2 separate regions of the Homo sapiens genome follow, and region 2 is linked to region 1. The links are contacts of gene promoters, found by promoter capture Hi-C in blood cells and fetal thymus (Javierre and others, 2016). All regions are on one chromosome and are shown on one strand. Each heading gives the region's core, a stretch centred on a gene start or on the middle of the fragment in contact. The rest is flanking DNA. Distances are from core to core; before and after follow the strand shown.

Region 1 (3,471 bases), core at 799-3,298:
AGGGACTTGCCTTGTCTCAGATGAGACTTTGGACTGTGGACTTTTGGGTTAATGCTGAAATGAGTTAAGGCTTTGGGGGACTGTTGGGAAAACATGATTGGTTCTGAAATGTGAGGGCATGAAATTTGGAGGGACTGGGGCAGAATGATATAGTTTGGCTGTGATCCCATTCAAATCTCAACATCAAATTGTATCTCTCAGAATTCCCATGTGTTTTGGGAAGAACCCAGAGGGAGGTAATTGAATCATGGGGGCCGGTCTTTCCTGTGCTATTCTCGTGATAGTGAATTAATTCTCATGAAACCTAATGGGTTTATTGGGGGTTTCTGCTTTTACTTCTTCCTCATTTTCTCTTGCCACCTCCATGTAAGAAGTGCCTTTCACCTCCTGCCATGATTCTGAGGCCTCCCCAGCCATGTGGAACTGTAACTCCAATTAAACCCCTTTTTCTTTCCAGTCTGGGATATGTCTTTATCTGCAGTGTGAAAACGGACTAATACAGTGACCCTACTTTGTTTTATCTCTCTGAGCTTCCAGTATCTAATTTCTTTAAAAAATTGATATGACTACAGGGTTTTGTGAGAATTTAAGGGTAAAAATATCTTTGGTGTGGGGGGTGGGGGGTGGCTAGAGCATTGTGTTTTGAAATTTAGCTCTCATTTTTATTTTATATGAAGCACCATCACTCAGATTTATTTCTTAATCCAGTTCTCCACCTCCTTCATTGAGATAATATAATAGAGGGTTGTAAGGGGGCCCTGAATGGGAGAAAGGATATATGGATGCAGAAGGAGATGCCACAAGATAAAAGCTGAGAGAGCTACTTCAATAAAAACTCTGTGAACTCTCCCCTCCCACCGTCTCTTGATAATAGCCTAACACTATTTGACAAAAGGTAAAGAAAGGCATTCTCTTTATTCTGCAACATGACCTTTGGGGGGTTTCTGTGCATCATCAGGGCAGGGTCAAGCAGCATCCAACCATCCACAGGTGAAAAGGCATGGGGCCGGGGGGAGGCGGGAGTGCTTCTGAAGGCGCGGGTGGGTGGGTTTGTGGGGCTGGAAAAGAGGAATGAAACCAGATGCCACAATGCAACTGCTCTCTCTGGTCCCTGAGCCCTCCTGAGACACTCCCAGGGGTTGCTACGAAACATGATCAAGAGCTGTGGGTTCAGCAATTGACAGAAATGTATCAAATCACTAAGCATTTCTTGCTTGCCTGTTACACATTGGGCATGGTGTTAGCAATGGTGACACAAAGATGATAAAGACGTCGCTGATCTCAAGTCCTTGTCTGGTTCAACCACGTGCCAAGACATTTTAATACTCTGTTGGGAATTCTCAGGCAGCACAGGCCCAGGCGTTAGCAAAGCAGCCAGGGATTTCAGACAGAGGGTGCCATCCAGGGTAAGAAAATGAACTTTTTGTGTCACATTTGCATTTTCATTCCTTAACTAAGAGTATCTGAAAATACTGATGGCACAAACGAACTAAATTCCTGCTTCAGCACCAAATGGATGAACTACTACGGTTTAAGCATTGAACTAGTCCTAATATCACCATTCCAGAAATGTCTTAGTATTAATCAGGACAAGAAATAGGGATCTCTTTCGCAAGAAGCGAGACTGCACTCCTTCCTTTCCTTGTATACGGAAAGGGGACAAAATCCACAGTGAAAGGCCTAGAAGCGGCGCACTCCGCCCACGGGCGGCCCACGTGTCCACCTATTCCGCACCGCGCCCTGTCCCATCCCTATGGAGCGGGGTCTGCCAACGCTCGCGAGAGCCCTCTCGGCTTCCACGTTTGCCACGTTCCAAAGGACCGAGACAAACTGGAAAGCCGAAAGAGGCTCGCGCTCACAGGCAGCTGCGTAGCGCCCGAACAGCCCTAAGTGAGCAGGGGCGGGGAGCGCGGCAGGGTACCGCCGCCTCGTAAGGGCCCTTGCGATTGGGTCCCAGGCGCCGTCACTCAGCCTTCCGGGGGCGGGGCGAGGCCGGGAAGGGGCGTGGCCGTCGGGCGGCGAGCCGCGCGCTCTCGCCCCGGGAGGGAGTCACAGGTTCGTACACGCGAGGCCGGGCGCGCGCAGCCGGCAGGCGGGTGAAGTCTTCCCAGGTGCTGCAGGCGGTGCTGAGGCACAGGGTCTGCTGCAGGAGCAGCGGCCCGAACCCGCTCCAGCGGCCCGCCGCCGCCAGCGGTTCCCGCGTCGCGTGTGTACCCCCGCGCACTGAAGGAGGTCCGCCAGCCCTCACCAGCCCCCGCGGACCGTGCAATGGCCCAGCGTAAGAATGCCAAGAGCAGCGGCAACAGCAGCAGCAGCGGCTCCGGCAGCGGTAGCACGAGTGCGGGCAGCAGCAGCCCCGGGGCCCGGAGAGGTCAGAGGCCCTGCGGGGCGGGGATCTGGGGCCTCGCCTCGGGGTAGGGAGCCGGCTGGCGCGGCGGACGCTGCGGGTGCATCTCCCCAGGTCCCACCGCGCGCCGCCTCCATCCCCCGCGACGCTCCTCCTTTAGGCGCGCGGGGCGGAGGCCGCATTCGGCGGGCCTGGCGGGCGGGCGAGGGGCCAGGCGGACCGGGGTCCGAGCCCTCGGGATGCTAGTCTCGGGGAGCCCCTTCCCAGCGGTTCCTTCACCTGCAGGGCGCAGCCGAGACAGAGGTTGCTGAACGACTGTTTCTTGGCTTTCCGTGGAATTGAACATGGGAGTAAGAGAACAATTTATCGTTTGCCTTGCGTGTTTTGGGGAGTTGAAAATGAGCCAAAGTCAGGGAAAGTGAGTTCCTGCCTAACCAGCAGCGTTTCAGAGCAACTCAAAGGAGGTGAAAATGGGGGCGCCGGGGGGCAGGGGGAGGGAAGAAGTTGGGAGTGATTTGAATGCTCTCAGAAATTATTTTAAATATTTTTGCTTGTATGTAGCTTTCTTAATATGCGTTGCAGTTGCCTTTAAAATAGAATGTCATGAAATACTGAACGAGCGTCTGTATTTTTACCACTTTTACTTAAAATAAAAATCGATTGGATATTCACCTTTCTCCTCGTCCGTGTGCATATCCAGCAGAGAGAACAGATTTTTAAATCTGTTTCGTCTCATATTTCAGTGATTCTTGGTTTCTTTTATACTTCCTTTGACTCATATTTGGGATATTGAAACTGCAATACACATGTGTATGGAATGTGAGCTGTAAACTTCACTTGAAGTGATTTAGACTCTTTGTTTTCTGAGATCTTCAGATCATGCATTCATAATATACCAAGAAAATGAATCAGCTATAGTCAAAGAAGTATTTTCTTTATAGCACTTGTCACTATCTGAACTTGTCTTATTACTTTCATGTGTGTTGTCTTTGGCTCATTCTCTCTGTATCCCCAGCTCCTAGAATGTTCCTTTCCCATAATAGGTGCTCAATAAATATTTGAGTAGTGAATGAATGAATGGATTTAAATGGGGAAAGTAGTGCATTAAATCCATTGCACAAATT
Region 2 (3,489 bases), core at 45-2,544, about 47 Mb before region 1:
ACACAAGCCTTTTAAAACTGTGTGTTTACAGGTTTGTTTTCTCCATTAGATTGTGACTTCCTTGGAAGTGGGGACTGTGTGTTGACAGAGCCAAGATTTTGCAGTAAGAAATCAACACTGTTGTTTAATATAATGGAATCCCTCAATTCAGGTATAAATACTGAGATTCACAACGTGCTAGAGGCCATAAAGTCAATAAATCATTTAATTCAGTTCAAGTACAAAGAAATTTTGCTTTATTTGTAACGGATTTACAACTTTATAATAACTGATATATTTATTCACGATAAAACAGAAAATACAACTTTCGGTCCACATGTTTTCAGGTCATTATTAAAACATCCCAAGAAGGCATTCGTTAAGCAAATTAGCTACTGAAGTCTCCTGTATTATGTTAAATGCTGGGAATATGAATTCCAATTACACAAATTCCACGCCTTAATGAAACTCAAGTTTCTTAAGCACACAGAATTGATCCAAGGTTTGGCTGTTCCCAGATTTAAAGAACATATCCCACTCTAGATCAACTAAGGATAGGGAAAAGTGACCATCACACGTAAGCACTTACGTAGCCCAGAGTTAATTAGTTATTTTTCCCTTCAGAAAAGAAACTACTAGTAGGGAGTAAGAAAGAAGTTGTGTTGTGTGTGTAAATGTGTTTTGAGAAGGAGTGGGACAGAGACTAGACTAAAAGGAAAAGAAACTGGAAACCCGGGTTTAAGAAGAAAACTAAATGTAGAGTGGCATATGAGAATCACATTTGTTCACGCATCTTTTACACAGCTTTTCTGCACAGAGCTGTAATCCTTACACACCACTTAGTAAAGGGCCTTACAGGCCCTGTGTTTCTTGGCTCCAAAGAAGCTTCAGTAACCACCTATTCCGCCTCTTCCGCACCGCCCAGCAACCAGTTAGCGTGCGACAACCCCAGCCCCAAGTCCCTCCCGCCCGCCTCATAAATAAAAGCGGCCCCGGGACGCTGGACTGGCGCGGAGGAGGGCAGGTCAACCGAGGAGCAGACACCGTGGGAAACGCTGCAGAGTACGCGTCCGGGCCAAGGGAAGGGTCAGCCTCAGCCTCCACCTCAGCTTGGCCCGTACAGTGAGGGCTCTGGTACCAAAAAGACACCAGAGAACCCAGCTCCCCGAAAGCAGCGGGTACTCCCGAACGGCTTCCCAGCGCTTTTAGTCTTTCCGCACCCGCCCCCACCCGAAGTTACCTTCCCAAGTGACATCGTAAAGCTCTGAGACCTTCGCCATCTTCCCAGAACCTAGAGGCAGCGGGGTGAGAGGGCGGGGAGACGCAGTCACGTGACCCGCCACCGGGCGGTGGAGAGTTACGTAGCTTTTTCTCATTGGCCAAGAGAGCAGAGGGGGCGGTATCCGCCACGCACGTGCACGCGGCTCTGCGGAGGGGCTTTCGGGGAAGGGGGCGGAGCGAGCTGGGCGGAGCGAGCTGGACGGTGGACGGAGCTAGGTGGGCGGTGCGTGGCGCTCCCGCAATCTCAGGATACCCTGGCTGCTGGCGGGGCTACGGTGCTGGCTCGGGGTGAGGTGTGTGTGTGTGTTGACGTGGATTTTTAACAAATGCTGGGTTTTTAGTGTCCGTCAATCCTGGCTTTTCAGTTTTTTCTACCTAGGCTTGTTCATTCTCTTCACACTCCCTTAAGTACCCTTATTCTCTTCATGGCCGGCCGCAGTGCAGCCTTCTGCACGAATCCCTTATTTGTCCCCAACTTTCCTCCTTCCGTAATGGGATTTGCTTTCCGTTCACTTTTTAATCGACTAAACGGATAAACTCCAAAGTTTTGAGAGACTAAGTGGGATTCTTCCTTTGCGCTCTGAAGTTCCCTTGAATGCCCTCGCGCTAGCTTATACCCTTCATTAACGCTCGTCGTGCCTGTCATTGCTTCATCCATGTCTGCATGCCACACTAGGTTTCAAACTGTCGCGAGTATGTAAGTACTTATAAGGAATGAATGTACGAATGAGACCTTCACAGTTCCTGAACTTCGCTCCTCATTACTCCTGGGTGGATGGGGGAGCCTCCTTTCCCACCAGACTAATTGCTTTTAGGAAACTTTGGACGTCATCTCCTAGACTTAAGGAGAAATGTCTGGACAGGAAGTAAAAAATTTGAGGATGATAAGCGTATATTTAGTATTTGAAGCAATGGGGACATGAGATTGTAGAGGAAATATGTAAGCTGAGAAAAAACTAAAAATCACTGCAATGCAGCCGAAAGTTATTGGTCAGTAAAGAAGGGGCAGTTGATTTGAGAAGTAGAAATAATACTATCCCACAAGTCAAAAGAGTGGAGGGTTTTTTTTCTCAGCTTTATTGAGGTGTAATGGACAAAAATTGTGTATATTTAAGGTATACAAAGTAATGATTAGATGTAAATATACACTGTGAAATGATTACCACAAGCAAGCTAATTAACACATCTATCACCGTACATATTTCCTGTGTGTGTGTGTGTGTGTGTGTGTTGAGAACACTTAAAAATCTCTCAGCAAACTTCAAAGTATACAATACAGAATTATAACTGTAGTCACCATGCTGTACATTCGATCTCCAGAACATATTCATCTTACAACCAAAAGTTTGTACTATTTGACCAACATCTCTCCATTCCTCACCTGTCGGCTCCAGTCAACCGCAGAGGTTTTTTTGTTTGTTTGTTTAAAAAAAGGAAAAAAACCATCAAACCATAGACCCCAGAGAAGTCACTTAACAACAGAGAAGACTAGTGAATGTATATACTTGGATTCAATTCTGAATGAGCTGGCATTCTTTCTAAACAGACTTTTTAAAAATCTTTCATTCAAAAAGTTAAAAAATACTCAGAAATTCACATATTTTAATGCTCCAGTAAAGCAACCTGGTGCAATAGGAAGAACAAGAACTCCCAGATCTGAATCCAGGCTCTACCTTTCAGTAGCTGGGTGACTTTCAGCTTATTTCTCTCTAAACATCAAAAAGGCTCATATATAAAAATCTAATAATATGTGTGTAAAAAGAAAATAGCTACCTTGTGTTGTTAATCAAGATAAAAACAGATGCTGCAGCTAAAGCCCCTGCGTGGCACTCTCATGGAGGTACCATCCTATGTCTAGAAATACTGTTTATATGCTGATCAGTCCCAAACTGATAAACCTTCCCAAAACCCAGTCTGGTTGCTTGACGTACTCAGATAGCTAGCTGATACGCATCTCAAAGTTAACATATCCCACACAGAACTGCGGATTCCTGCTGTCACCTTCCGCATTCCCACCTTGTTTTTCCCTGTCATAGGTGAGGAAACCATTTACCTAATTGCACAAGTTAAAATTACAGGAAGTACCTTTGATTCCTTTTTTTGGCACCACCTCCCATATCTAGTCTATCAGCAAATTCTATATTGCACTTCCCAAAGTTCATCTACTTTTCATATCTATTGCTATTACCTTAATCTAAGCCACAACTACGTCTCTTCTGAATGATTGTG

What was found. Contacts are between HindIII fragments. The CHiCAGO score rates a contact against its expected background, and 5 or more counts as called.
Region 2: the fragment with the promoter of EMC2 here is called in contact with the fragment with the promoter of ASPH in region 1 in 1 of 17 cell types (non-activated CD4 T cells); the score reaches 10.1 in non-activated CD4 T cells.

The regions. Positions count from the first base shown.
Region 1 is chr8:61,713,169-61,716,639 of GRCh38, reverse strand. ASPH (aspartate beta-hydroxylase) reads left to right here and starts at 2,048. Exons shown (of 25, transcript NM_004318.4): 1 at 2,048-2,371. The coding sequence starts at 2,269. MIR4470 (microRNA 4470) reads right to left here and starts at 1,852; the gene lies at 1,781-1,852. RefSeq lists silencers at 1,839-2,208, 2,249-2,678. The HindIII fragment of the contact is 6,840 bases long and covers 1-3,471 here.
Region 2 is chr8:108,441,429-108,444,917 of GRCh38, reverse strand. EMC2 (ER membrane protein complex subunit 2) reads right to left here and starts at 1,294. Exons shown (of 11, transcript NM_014673.5): 1 at 1,220-1,294. The coding sequence starts at 1,259. LOC105375704 (a long non-coding RNA gene) reads left to right here and starts at 1,446. Exons shown (of 3, transcript XR_928530.4): 1 at 1,446-1,548. RefSeq lists a silencer at 1,341-1,460. The HindIII fragment of the contact is 5,303 bases long and covers 867-3,489 here.